Linked DNA regions of Homo sapiens: region 2 is linked to region 1. Evidence: promoter capture Hi-C in human tissues and cell types (Jung and others, 2019). All regions are on one chromosome and are shown on one strand. The core of a region is centred on a gene start or on the middle of the fragment in contact, and the rest is flanking DNA. Distances in the headings are between cores, read along the strand shown. Region 1 holds the start of SLC35G3 (solute carrier family 35 member G3). Region 2 has its middle 49 kb from the start of SLFN11.

Region 1 (7,091 bases), core at 967-3,466:
AACAATCAACAGAGTAAAGAGATAACCTATGGAATGGGAGAAAATATTTGCAAGCCAGACATCTGATAAGGGGTTAATATCCAACACATATAAAGAGCTCAAACAACTCAATAGCAACAAAACAAAACAAAAAAGCAATTAAGACCTGCTTTCTGCTGACCAAGTCTTCTTCCTTACCCCTCCCTAATAAGAAGAAAAAAAGGCAATTAAAAGATGGGTAACTCCTCCTTAGTATAGTGGTAAAATTTAAACATTAAAAAAGTTTTGGGACCAGTCTGGTCACTCACACCTGTAATCCCAGCACTTTCGAAGGCCAAGGTGGGCAGATTGCCTGAGCCCAGGAGTTCAAGACTAGCCTGGGCAACATAATAAAACACTGTCTCTACAAAAAAAAAAAAAAAATTAGCTGGGCTTGAGCCATGTTTGTGTCACTGCACTTGAGCCTGGGTGAGAGAGCGAGACCCTGTCTCAAAAAAAAAAAAAAAAAAAAAAGCTTTAAGTTGTAAAAAAAAGTGGGTAAGATCAAAAGAAGAGAAGGAAAGAAAACAATGTATAAGATACCTGAGCTCTCCCTCTCCCTCTCCCTCTCCCCACGGTCTCCGTTTCCCTGTCTTTCCACGGTCTCCCTCTGATGCGGAGCCGAAGCTGGACTGTACTGCTGCCATCTCGGCTCACTGCAACCTCCCTGCCTGATTCTCCTGCCTCAGCCTGCGATTGCAGGTGCGCACCGCCACGCCTGACTGGTTTTCGTATTTTTTTGGTGGAGACGGGGTTTCGCTGTGTTGGCCAGGCTGGTCTCCAGCTCCTAACCACGAGTGATCTGCCAACCTCGGCCTCCCGAGGTGCCGGGATTGCAGACGGAGTCTCATTCACTCAGTGCTCAATGTTGCCCAGGCTGGAGAGCAGTGGCGTGATCTCGGCTAGCTACAACCTCCACCTCCCAGCCGCCTGCCTTGGCCTCCCAAAGTGCCGAGATTGCAGCCTCTGCCCAGCCGCCACCCCGCCTGGGAAGTGAGGAGCGTCTCCGCCTGGCCGCCCATTGTCTGGGATGTGAGGAGCCCCTCTGCCCGGCTGCCCAGTCTGGGAAGTGAGGAGCGCCTCTTCCCGGCCGCCATCCCATCTAGGAAGTGAGGAGCGCCTCTTCCCGGCCGCCATCCCGTCTAGGAAGTGAGGAGCGTCTCTGCCCGGGGGCCCATCGTCTGAGATGTGGGGAGCGCCTCTGCCTGGCCGCGACCCCATCTGGGAGGTGAGGAGCGTCTCTGCCCGGCCGCCCCATCTGAGAAGTGAGGAGCCCCTCCGCCCCGCAGCTGCCCCATCTGAGAAGTGAGGAGCCCCTCCGCCCGGCAGCCGCCCCGTCTGAGAAGTGAGGAGCCCCTCCACCCGGCAGCCGCCCCGTCTGGGAAGTGAGGAGCTTCTCTGCCCGGCAGCCGCCCCGTCCAGGAGGGAGGTGGGGGGCAGCCCCCGCCGGGCAAGCTGCCCCGTCTGGGAGGGAGGTGGGGGGTCAGCCCCCGCCCGGCCGCTGCCCCGTCCGGGAGGTGGGGGGCACCGCTGCCCGGCCGCCCCTTCTGGGAAGTGAGGAGCCCCTCTGCCCGGCCACCACCCCGTCTGGGAGGTGTACCCAACAGCTCATTGAGAACGGGCCATGATGACGGTGGTGGTTTTGTGGAATAGAAAAGGGGGAAAGGTGGGGAAAAGATAGAGAAATCAGATTGTTGCTGTGTCTGTGTAGAAAGAAGTAGACATGGGAGACTTCATTTTGTTCTGTACTGGGAAGGGTTCTTCTGCCTTGGGATGCTGTTGATCTGTGACCTTGCCCCCAGCCCTGTGCTCTCTGGGGCATGTGCTGTGTCCACTCAGGGTTAAATGGATTAAGGGCGGTGCAAGATGTGCTTTGTTAAACAGATGCTTGAAGGCAGCATGCTCGTTAAGAGTCATCACCACTCCCTAATCTCAAGTACCCAGGGACACAAACACTGCAGAAGGCCGCAGGGTCCTCTGCCTAGGAAAACCAGAGACCTTTGTTCACTTGTTTATCTGCTGACCTTCCCTCCACTATTGTCCTATGACCCTGCCAAATCCCCCTCTGCGAGAAACACCCAAGAATGATCAATAAAAAAAAACAAAAAACAAAAAAAGAAAGAAAAGAAGCAGAGTTGGACTCAGTGGGAAAATAGGCGTGCTACCACCTCAGGAGAGTTCCAGGGAAGAATCCCACCCCCACTCCAATGAGGTCACAATGGCTGGAGCTCTGAGGGGCCCAGGCTCCCTGAGCCAGGAGGAGAGGAGAAAGTCCAAGGAAAGATGGCTGGCAGTCACCCCTATTTCAACCAGCCTGACTCCACACACCCATCGCCGCCCTCCGCTCCACCCAGCCTCCGCTGGTACCAGCGCTGCCAGCCCTCTGATGCCACCAGTGGCCTGCTGGTGGCCCTGCTGGGTGGGGGCCTGCCTGCTGGCTTCGTGGGCCCCCTTTCTCGTATGGCTTACCAGGCTTCCAACCTGCCCTCGCTGGAGCTGCTCATCTGGCGATGCCTCTTCCACCTCCCTATTGCCCTGCTACTTAAACTGCGTGGCGACCCCCTTCTGGGAACTCCTGACATCCGAAGCCGGGCCTTCTTCTGTGCCCTGCTCAACATCCTCAGCATTGGATGTGCCTACAGTGCGGTTCAGGTGGTGCCCGCTGGCAACGCTGCCACTGTTCGCAAAGGTTCTTCCACCGTCTGCTCCGCCGTCCTCACTCTCTGCCTTGAGAGCCAGGGTCTCAGTGGCTACGACTGGTGTGGACTGTTGGGCTGCATCCTAGGACTAATCATCATTGTGGGACCTGGACTCTGGACACTACAGGAGGGGACCACGGGTGTCTACACCGCCCTGGGCTATGTGGAGGCTTTCCTGGGAGGCCTGGCGCTGTCCCTGAGGCTTCTGGTCTATCGTTCTCTGCACTTTCCCCCCTGCCTCCCAACAGTGGCCTTCCTATCTGGCTTGGTGGGGCTGCTGGGCTCTGTGCCAGGCCTCTTTGTGCTGCAGGCCCCCGTGTTGCCCAGTGACCTCCTGAGTTGGAGTTGTGTGGGGGCAGTGGGGATCCTCGCCTTGGTCTCCTTCACATGTGTGGGCTATGCGGTCACCAAGGCCCACCCTGCCCTGGTGTGCGCTGTCCTACATTCCGAGGTGGTTGTGGCCCTTATACTGCAGTATTATATGCTCCATGAGACTGTGGCACCTTCTGACATCGTGGCGGCAGGGGTTGTGCTGGGCAGCATTGCCATCATTACAGCCCAGAACCTCAGCTGTGAGAGGACAGGGAGGGTGGAGGAGTGAGATAGAACTTGGGAGCCCGGGGGTTGGGAGGGACAGGGATAAATAAAGGCAAAGACTGAAGACAAACATGGGAGGAGAAGTGACTGGAAAAGAACTGGTGTGGGAGAGGGATACCTCTCAGAGTCAAGGGTGACTTGGGGACTTGGTGGAGAGGGACTACGTGGAAGACCTGGGGCCAGCCTGGGACCAAGGGATGTGGAGTCCAGGCTGGGTCCTAGAATCAGGGCATAACTAAGGGGTAAAGTCTGAGGAGCAGATCCAAAGGGCTGAGGCAGGGAGGCCGTGGGCCATGGGGAGGACTTCACTCAGCAGCAAAGAGAAGAGCATTGGGGCTGGAGTGTTCCGGCAAAGACAGAGCCAGCAGCTGCGCTGGGGGAGGGAAGCGTGCCTCCCCACCCCTCCCCTCACGGGGAAGGTTTCCTTTCCTCGTGCTTGTGCCCCCCGCTTGGGGTGGTGACGTGACATTGACATCAAACAAGGATTACAGTGAATGTGAAAAAAAAAAAAAAAGATACCTGAATAGACATTTCTATGACATTTTAAAAGCCATGAATTTATTTTGGCACAAATATTTTATCATATGCAGTCACTTCTTTGTAAATGATTTTTTGTAAAGTCATTGGATATAAAAGAGTGATTTTCCTCACCTGAGTACATGAAAAGAAAATGCTGAAATCAATGTATAAATCAAATCATCTGTACTAGCACTGTTAATCTAGAAGAAAGTGGTTGCATAGAGAAGAGTAAGAATGTAGACCAGCTTATTGAAGTAGGAAAAGAAAAAAAAAAGGAGCTTCAGAGGTAGGCTTTGCCTCTTAAAAAAATTAAAAACATAAGTCACTGTGTTGTGCTTGGGAGTTAGCAGCAAAAAAAAAAAAAAAAAATGAAGTCACTGTCTGTGAAAGGAAAAGAAAAAATGAAAAGAGTTTGCATCCATTGAAGTATGCAGAAAAAGAAAACAAGTTTTAAAATAAAATAAAATGAGTATAGTTGGGGGCTTAGCAATGGACATACAGAGTGGAGTAATAGACACCGGAGGCTCCAAAAGGTGGGCAGATGGGTGGGGGATGAGGGATGAAATCCTACCTATTGGGTACAATGTTCACTATTCTGATGATGAGGATGCTATGCAATATGCTTTACCACTACGCAATGTATCCATGCAACAAAACTGCACTTGTACTCCTAAATCCATAAAAATTTAAAATTGTCTTGGCTGAGACCTCTTTTAAAAAATAATAAAATAAAAAAATTAGAGAGAATAGTAAGAGCAGAGCAAGGACATTTAGTCTATAGTTTCAAATGGACTTAATCATTTGAAACAATAAAGTTTTTCATTGAATCTTCATAGAGTATTAAAAAAAAAGCTGCTCATTGGCAGAATTTCCCACTGAGTTAGTATAGATTACATGCTCTTTGATAAAAGCAGCAAATAAAGTTACTTGGTTTTTTTTCTCTTTAGTGTTTGCTTTAAGAGAAAAATCCTAAACTCCTTCAGAGGAAGGAAAAAAGAGACAGAGAGTGAGAAATCCTTAAAACTGTAGGGACTTCCAATGCCAGGAAACCATGAAATATGAGAGTATATTTAGCAATCATGGTGATTTAGCTCATGGTAATTGGCATATGTATAATTATAATTTGCATTCCAGTTATTTAAACTGAGATATTCCTGATCAGGTTTAACACACTTGGGGAAAGATCTCTTTCCCCAAGAAATAAGATGGAGAGAGTCTTTGGAGAGTGGCCTAACTGAACTGGTAAGTCAGCTTCCTCCGGATTTTGGTAATTTCCTCACTTCTTCCATAATTTCTCAGTGCCCTGGCCATTTTCTGATAAGTCATGGTCTTCCAACGGCCTTTTCTTTTCCGCCAAAGCTCGGCAAGTTTTCCTTTGTTTTTTGATACAAACGGAAAGATGCCTTTGATTTTATCTACCCACTGAATACAAGGTGCCATCTCCGGATTACACAGGGATTCGTGAAGGTATTCAAACAGTCTAAGCTTCTTCCTGCCTTTTCCCCACTTTTGCTGGAGAATAGTGGGTTGTACCAGCTGGTTTTCAGTTATGTTCTGCAGAGACTGATGAATGTTTCCTTCAAAATAGAAGTCCGCAGCACTGTTGATTACCGTTCTCCAATTACAGAGAGGTTCCTCTGTAGGCAACACTCCATAGCAGCTGGAATTTCCTTTGACGTGAGGACAATAATTGATTAAAGCCAGGTAATTTTTGTAATCTGGCGAGTACTAAAGATCTCCAGTTGAATGTTGCCTCAGTGCCTCAAAAGCATCCTCAAATGCTTGACCCAGCTTGTCTTGTTCAACACACGTCATGTTTCATTAATAAATTGACAATTTTGTTCCTTGGCAATTGTTGCAGGAAGACACTTCAACCCTTTATAGAGATATTTCATTAATATCAGAATTGTAAATTCAATGGTAGGCTGTCATGAAAATAAAAAATTATTTTCCAGCATGATGGTTCTGCCCATCAGTGTCCAATGCAGCATCCACTTGCATATGGTGGAAATAGCCTTCCCCTCCCCTGAAACACATGTCTGCCTCCCGCTTGGCTAACCTGTAACCTGCCATTGTAACAGCTGTCACGTTTGGCCAATTTTATGATTTTCATTGCCTTTTCTTGCCTTTTTGTACTAGCTACGCTCTTCGGTACAAAGTTGAATACAATTGGTAATAGCAAGTACTGTTATCTCATTCTTAATCTCGGGATAATTAAATATCACAGTGGCTATAGATTTTATACAGATAAACTTTATCACATTAAGGAAGCTTCTTTCTATTTTTAGTTTACTGAAGAGTTTTATCATGAATTGTTACTGAATTTTATCAAAAACTTTTCTTACGTCTATTGAGATAGTCATTATTTTATTCTTTATTCTGTTGATGTAGTACATTATATTGGTTGATAGTCTCATATTAACCAACTTATTGTTCTTAGAATAAACATAACTTGATTAATGTGTTATCTTTTTATATATTGGTGGATTTGGGGTGCTAGTATTTAGTAAAGGATTTTGTACCTATAGTCATAAAAGATACTGGTCTACAATTTTCCTATATGTCTTTGTTAAGTTTTGCTATCAAGCTATCCTCATAAAAAGAGCTGAAAGTGTCCTTTCTTTTATCTTCTTTGGAAGGGTTTGCATAAGACTGGTACTGTTTTGGCCAGACGCGGTGGCACACACCTGTAATCCCAACGCTTTGCGAGGCTGAGGTGAGAGGATTATTTGAGCCCAGGAGTTCAAGACCAGCCTGGTCTTTACAAAAAATAAAAAATAAAAATACTTGATGCACCTATAATATCATAGTGAATCTCCATTTCTATATAAAAAAAAAGTTTTTAAAAAGGAAAAGAAAAAAACATTAAGTTGGAGGACTAACAGTGAATATCAGCTACTCAGGAGACTGAGTGGGAGGATCGCTTGAGCCCAGGAGGTTGAAGCTGCAGTGAGCCGTGATCACGCCACTGCACTCCAGCCTGGGTGACAGAGTGAGACCCTGTCTCGAAAAACAAAAGAAAACAAAAGAATGGCATTGTTTCTTTCTTAAATGCCTGTAGAATTCACCAGTGAAACTAAATGGGCCTGAGTTTTCTTTGTGGGAAGGCTTTCCTTACCATCGTTGTTGTTATTACAAACGTAATTTCTCCAATAGGTATCATACTATTCAAATTTTCTATTTCTTCTTTTAACAGTTTAGTAAATGGTGTCTCAGACACTTAAACCTCTGTGACTCACAACCTCTGCTAACAAATTG
Region 2 (7,091 bases), core at 3,404-5,903, 130 kb before region 1:
ACAACAGATGCTGGAGAGGATGTGGAGAAATAGGAACGCTTTCACACCGTTGGTGGGAGCATAAATTAGTTCAACCATTGTGGAAGACGGTGTGGCAATTCCTCAAGGATCTAGAACCAGAAATACCATTTGACCCAGCAATCCCATTACTAGGTATATACCCAAAACATTATAAATTATTCTACCATAAAGACACATGCACACGTATGTTTATTGCAGCACTGTTCACAATAGCAAAGACCTAGAACCAACCCAAATGCCATCAATGATAGCCTGGATAAAGAAAATGTGGCACATGTACACCATGGAATACTGTGCAGCCATAAAAAGGATGAGTTCATGTCCTTTGCAGGGATATGGATGAAGCTGGAAACCATCATTCTCAGCAAACTAACAGGAACAGAAAACCAAACATTACATGTTCTCACTCATAAGTGGGAGTTGAACAATGAGAACACATGGACACAGAGAGGGGAACATCACACAACGGGGCCTGTTAGGGGGTGGGGAGCTAGGGGAGGGATGTATTAGGAGAAATACCTAGTGTAGATGATGGGTTGATGGGTGCAGCAAACCACCATGGCACGTGTATACCTATGTAACAAACCTTCACATTCTGCACTTGTATCCCAGAACTTAAAGTATAATAATAAAAAAAAGCACAAAGAGGGACATTATATAATGATAAAAGGCTTTGTCCAACAGGAAACTATCACAATACTAGACATACATTCACCTAACACTGGAGGTCCCAAATTTATGAAACAATTACTAATAGATCTAAGAAATGAGATAGACAGCAACAAAGTAACACTGAGGAACTTCAATACTCCGCTGACAGCACTAGACAGGTCATTAAGACAGAAAGCCAACAAAGAAACAATGGATTTAAACTACACCCTGGAACAAATGGACTCAACATATATATACAGAACATTCCATGCAACAACTGCAGAATACACATTCTATTCAACAGCACATGGAACTTTCTCCAAGATAGACCATATGATAGCCACAAAATGAGCCTCAATAAATTTAAGAAAATTGAAATTATATCAAGCACTCTCTCAGGCCACAGTGGAATAAAACTGGAAATAAACTTCAAAAGGAACCTTCAAAACCATGGAAATTAAATAACCTGCTCTTGAATGAACATTGGGTCAAAAATGAAATCAAGATGAAAATTTAAAAAGTCTTCGAACTGAATGACAATAGTGACACAACCTATCAAAACCTCTGAGACACAGCAAAGGTGATGCTAAGAGGAAATTTCATCGTCCTAAATGCCTACATCAAAAAATCTGAAAGAGCACAGGCAATCTAAGGTCACACCTCAAGGAACAAGAGAAACAAGAACAAATCAAACCCAAACCCAGAAGAAAGGAAGGAAATAACCAAGATCAGAGCAGAACTAAATGAAATTAAAACAAAAAAATACAAAAGATAAATAAAACAAAAAGCTAGTTCTTTGAAAAGATAAATAAAATTGATATACCATTAGCAAGATTAACCAAGAAGAGAGAAAATCCAAATAAGCTCAGTAAGAAACGAAACGGAAGAGATTACAACTGACACCACAGAAATGTGAAAGATCATTCAAGGCTACTATGAACACCTTTGCATGCGTAAACTAGAAAACCTAGAAGAGATGGATAAATTCCTGGAAAGACACAACCCTCCTAGCTTAAATCAGGAAAAATTAGATGTCCTGAACAGACCAATAACAAGCAGTAAGATTGAAATGGTAATTTAAAAATTACCAACAAAAAAAAGGGTCCAGGACCAGACGGATTCACAGCAGAATTCTACCAGACATTCAAAGAAGAATTGGTAACAATCTTTTTGACACTATTCCACAAGACAGAGAAAGAGAGAACCCTTCCTAAGTCATTCTATGAACCTAGTATCTCCCTAATACCAAAACCAGGAAAGGACATAATCAAAAAGAAAACTACAGACCAATATCCATAAAGAACATTAGATGCTAAAATCCTTAACAAAATTCTAGCTAACCAAATTCAAGAACATATCAGAAAGATAATCCACCATGACCAAGTGGGTTTCATACCAGGGATGCAGGGATGGTTTAATATATGCAAGTCAATAAATGTGACACAGCTGGGTGCGATGGCTCACCCCTGTAATCCCAGCACTTTGGGAGGCCGAGGTGGGTGGATCACCTGAGGTTGAGAGTTCGAGACCAGCCTGACCAACATGGAGAAACCTCATCTCTACTAGAAAAAAATTACAAAATTAGCCAGGCATGGTGGTACATGCCTGTAATCCCAGCTACTCGGGAGGCTGAGGCAGGAGAATCGCTTGAACCCAGGAGGCAGAGGTTGCGGTGAGCCAAGATTGGGCCATTGCACTCCAGCCTGGGCAACAAGAGCAAAACTCTGTCTAAAAAAAAAAAAGTGATACATCACATAAACAAAATTAAAAACAAAAACCATGTGATCATCTCAATAGATGCAGAAAAAGCATTTGACAAAATCCAGCATCACTTTACTATTAAAACTCTCAGCAAAATTGGCATATAAGAGATATACCTCAATATATTAAAAGCCATCTATGACAAAGTCACAGCCAACATAATACCGAGTGGGGAAAAGTTGAAAGCATTCCCTCTGAGAACTGAAACAAAACAAAGATGCCCACTCTCACCACTCCTCAACATAGTACTGGAAGTCCTAGCCAGAGCAATCAGACAAGAGAAATAAATAAAGGACATCCGAATCAATAAAGAGGGACTCAAATGTCCCTGTTTGCTGATGATATGATCATTTACCTGGGAAACCCTAAAGACTCCTCCAGAAAGCTCCTAGAACTGATAATTCAGCAAAGTTTTCAGATACAACATTAATGTACACAAATTAATAGCTCTTCTATACATCAGCAGCGACCAAGGGGAGAATCAAATCAAGAAATCAACCCCTTGTACAATAGCTGCAAACAAACAAACAAACAAAAAAAAAAAACAGTGAAAGGGCATCATTGCCTTGTTCCAGTTCTCAGGAGGAATGCTTTCAACTTTTCCCCATTCAGTATGCTGGCCATGGTATTTTATTATTCTTAATAGCTCTATTCATAATAGTCAAAACCTGGAAATAACCCAGAAGTTTTTCACTTGACAAATGGAAAAGCAGTGGTATATTTTCTTAAAAAATTTTTGTGGGTACATAGTAGGTATATATATTTATGAGGTACATGAGGCATTTTGATACAGGCATGCAATGCACAATAATCACATCATGGAAAATGGAGTAGCAATTCCTTCAAGCATTTATCATTTGTGTTACAAACAACCCAATTACACCTTTTAAGTTATTTTAAAATGTACAGTTAAATGATTATTGACTATAGTCACCCTGTTGTGCTATCAAATACTAGGACTTCTTCATTCTATTCCTTTTTTTGGACACATTCTACATCCCCACTGCCCACCAACTCCTTCAACCACACTTCCCAGCCTCTGGTAATAATCCTTCTACTCTCTATCTCTATGAGTTCAATTGTTCTGGTATTTAGATCCCACAAATAAGTGTGAACATGTGATGTTTGTCTTTCTGTGCCTGGCCTTATTTTGTTACCAAAACACCAGGGGTTTAGTCTAGGTCCTGCTGCTCCCTGCACAGAAAGCCAATGACTGAGACAATGATTATTGCCAAGGAAGAAGGCTTTAATCAGGTGGTGTAGCTGAGGGGATGGGAGATCAGTCTCAAATCCATCTCCATGACTGACTAGAACTAGGGGTTGATATAGCAGGGAAGAAATGTAACAATGTGTAAGAAAATAAGAACTAGGGAGAGGCAAGGAAGCAAACATGGTGAATGAGGGGTCCAGCATCTGGTGAGGTGATCTGGTGAGTTTCAGTTCTTTGATCCTTTTTTTTTCAGAGGCCTGAAGGTCCTGTCCTGAGGAAGGAATGCAGATAAAACAAATATAAGTTTCAAGCTTTAAGACCAGAAGGGTCAATTTCTATGTTTATCAAAAAGATCAGTCTATGAGACTATTGGGTCAGTTTCAGCCCCCACTTTCTATTTATCAATTCCTCAGACATGAGGAATCTGGTCATCAATCTTTCTGGCTGCTTCATGCTGAGGAGGGGTGTCATAGGCAGCTCCATACCATGGGTGACCACGTGGCTGCCCAAGAATCAGACGTTAATCTAATATAGACTTTTCTTCTGAAACACAATCTTTGGAAGCAGAGAAACTCTAAGCAGACAGGGGAGGGTCCCCAGTGGAAATCCCACCTTCAAGCCAGAAATATCCTTAAACCCACTGCCCAAAGTGAGAACTTCTATTCCTGTTTGCCTACTCTCTCCTGATTGGTTCTTTCTGAATAATATCTTTACCAATGGAATGTCGCCTTTTCCAAAACTACCTATGGCCTGCCCATACCCATCCTGTGCCTATAAAGACCTCAACCTCCCTCCCTCAACCAGGAGGGAGAAGAAGTGGCTGGACATTGGGGAAAGATGAATTGACTACATAGATGATGGCTGGATGTCACAGAGAGGCAACTTGACTTTGGAGGAGAGAGGCAGAGTGGTGACTTGACTTCAGGAGAGAGAAACCTGCCCTTCCCATCCCTTTGCCACCTTGCCAGCTCTTCTCTCTACTGAGAGCCACTTTCATCACTCAGTAAACTCCACCTTCACCATCCTTCATCTGTGTGACCTGACCTCATTCTTGCTTTTTTTTTTTTACTCAGATGGAGTCTTGCTCTGTCACCAGGCTGGAGTACAGTGGCGCGATCTCGGCTCACTTCAACCCCCACCTCCTGGGTTCAAGCAACTCTTCTGCCTCAGCCTCCTGAGCAGCTGGGATTACAGGTGTGTGCCACCATGCCCGGCTATTTTTTGTATTTTTTTTTTTTAGTAGAGACGGGGTTTCACCATGTTGGCCAGGCTGCTCTTGAACTCCTCACCTTGTGATCCACCCACCTTGCCCTCCCAAAGTTCTGGGATTACAGGCATGAGCCACCACGCCTGGCCAACCTCATTCTTCTTTGGCACTGGACAAAAATTGGGGACCCACCAAGTGCAGGTACCCAAAAGGGCTGTCACACTGGCCCTTTGCTCTCACTGGCAGAGGGCAGCAGCCCCATTGATGAGTCAAAGGGCCCACTGAGCTGATAACACAGTGCTATCTGTGAAAGGTGGAGCTAAGAGAGCACTGTAACATTCCCTCTGGGGCCTTGGGGTTGCAGGCACCCCTACCTGGACTCTGCCATGGGGCCTTCATGGTGTTTGCTCCTGCCAGCACCAAAGCAGCCAGCCAGTTCCTGCACTCACTTGCTTACATGCTCTCTTCCACAAGGGATGGAATGCAGTGGGTCCAAGCAAATGGAATTTGCTTCTGTCAGTGCTGAGGCAGCCAGCTGGTTCCTGCACTTGTTCAATTGAGTGCTTCCTCCTGCAAGGGGTTGAGCACAGTGGACTGAGTATACAAGGCACTCCAGTCACAAGTCCCACAAAGGCATCAAGAAAATATCCTGCATCAAAAACATGTTGTTATGAACCATATGCAATCAAATACATTGCTGTGAATTAAGAATATTTACAAATAGTTTACAAATTCTGGAGAAATTAGGCAGAGAGAAAAATATGACTCAAATTCTGTTTACAAACGTATATTTACTTAATACACTTAAAATATGTTTCAAGTTTATAAATAGCTCAAAAGAAAACAATTCTTCAGACTCCAAAAAACAAAACAAAAAGAATCAGCAATATTTCAAACAAAAAAAGCCATAAAAATTATTTCAGTCCTCCATTAGTTCTGTCAATGCAATCAACTCTCACTCTGCTTCATATTGCATTAGCAATCTTTATGAACATATCAGCCTTTCAATAAGTGCAGTGAAAGTTTTCTCTCTGATCTAATGGTACAATCTGCAAAGTTATCAGAAACCTGCATTCAAGAGTCCTTTTAATGAACTCCTCCAAAGAAACAAGACTTGGACTGTAGCTGATTATTAGTAACGTTTTTTGGAAGGATCACAGCAAGACAACATTTGTGGATGAAAAAAGTCTTAGGATAGCCGTAGTCAAAGACACAGTTGACAAGGAAATTTGGTTATTTCTGTGGCATGCAATTTAAAATAATAATCATAATTATTACTGATGATGTTACCAGTGGAGGGTGTCCAGGTTCTTGGTGTTTTGAACAAATAATTGGACAAAATGCACAAAGCAATGAAAGAAAAGCACAGATTTATTTAAATGAAACTACACTCCACAGAATGGGAGTGGGCTGAAGCAAGTGGCTCAAGAGCAGGGGTTACAGAATTTTCTGGAGTTTAAATACCCTCAAGAGGTTTCCCATTGGTTATTTGCTTTACACCCTATGTAAATGAAATAATGGCCCATAACCAGTCTGAATGGTTGTGGAAGGTGACCAATCAGAGTCTGAAGTAAAGTTACAAAGTTATACATGAAGACTTGGCCAATCAGAGGTACTTTCATTTTTCATCTGCAATGCAGAAAAGATGGGGAGAGTTACAAAGAAAGTAGCCTCTGATCCCTTTACTACTTGGGTGTGGAGAGGTGGGGTTAGGTTCTCTGCCTCCAGGCCCAGTTCTCCTGTGCATTTCCCCTCTGAGAGATGTGATCCCCATAAATCTTTATGGGAGGCAGGGGGACTGAGGGTCTTTCTTCTGTAACTGCTTCATGCTGACTTGGAGCACCGTCCCTACCTATTGAGGATTATAGAACTCTCATCCTGCTCTGTCTGGTGGGGAGAGGGTAGCTTCTTGATGGCCAGTGGTGTCTTCACCTGGAACTGACTGGAAACCTCATCACATGATCATCGAAAGCTTGATTGTCTCTAGGGAAAAGGAAATGAATTAAAGACTTAAATCTAAGACCTGAAACCATTAAAATTCTAGATGATAACACCAGAAAAACACTTCTGGACATTGGCTTAGGCAAAGAGTTTATAACCAAGAACACAAAAGCAAATGCAACAAAAACAAAAATAAATAGATCAGACCTAATTAAACTAAAACCTCCTGCACAGCAAAAGAAATAATCAGCAGAGTAAACAGACAACCCACAGAGTGGGAGAAAATATTTTCAAACTATG

The links. Contacts are between HindIII fragments. The study calls those that stand out against the background at their distance.
Region 2: a contact is called between a fragment that was not itself captured here and the fragment with the promoter of SLC35G3 in region 1, in 1 of the 25 tissues and cell types used here (H1 embryonic stem cells).

Annotation. Positions count from the first base shown.
Region 1 is chr17:35,189,518-35,196,608 of GRCh38, reverse strand. SLC35G3 (solute carrier family 35 member G3) reads left to right here and starts at 2,216. Exons shown (of 1, transcript NM_152462.2): 1 at 2,216-4,089. The coding sequence starts at 2,302. The coding sequence ends at 3,318. It also overlaps the pseudogene SPICP2. The HindIII fragment of the contact is 5,493 bases long and covers 219-5,711 here.
Region 2 is chr17:35,321,477-35,328,567 of GRCh38, reverse strand. No RefSeq gene overlaps it. Among named protein-coding and RNA genes, the nearest start is that of SLFN11, 49 kb to the left of the region's middle. The HindIII fragment of the contact is 7,056 bases long and covers 1,126-7,091 here.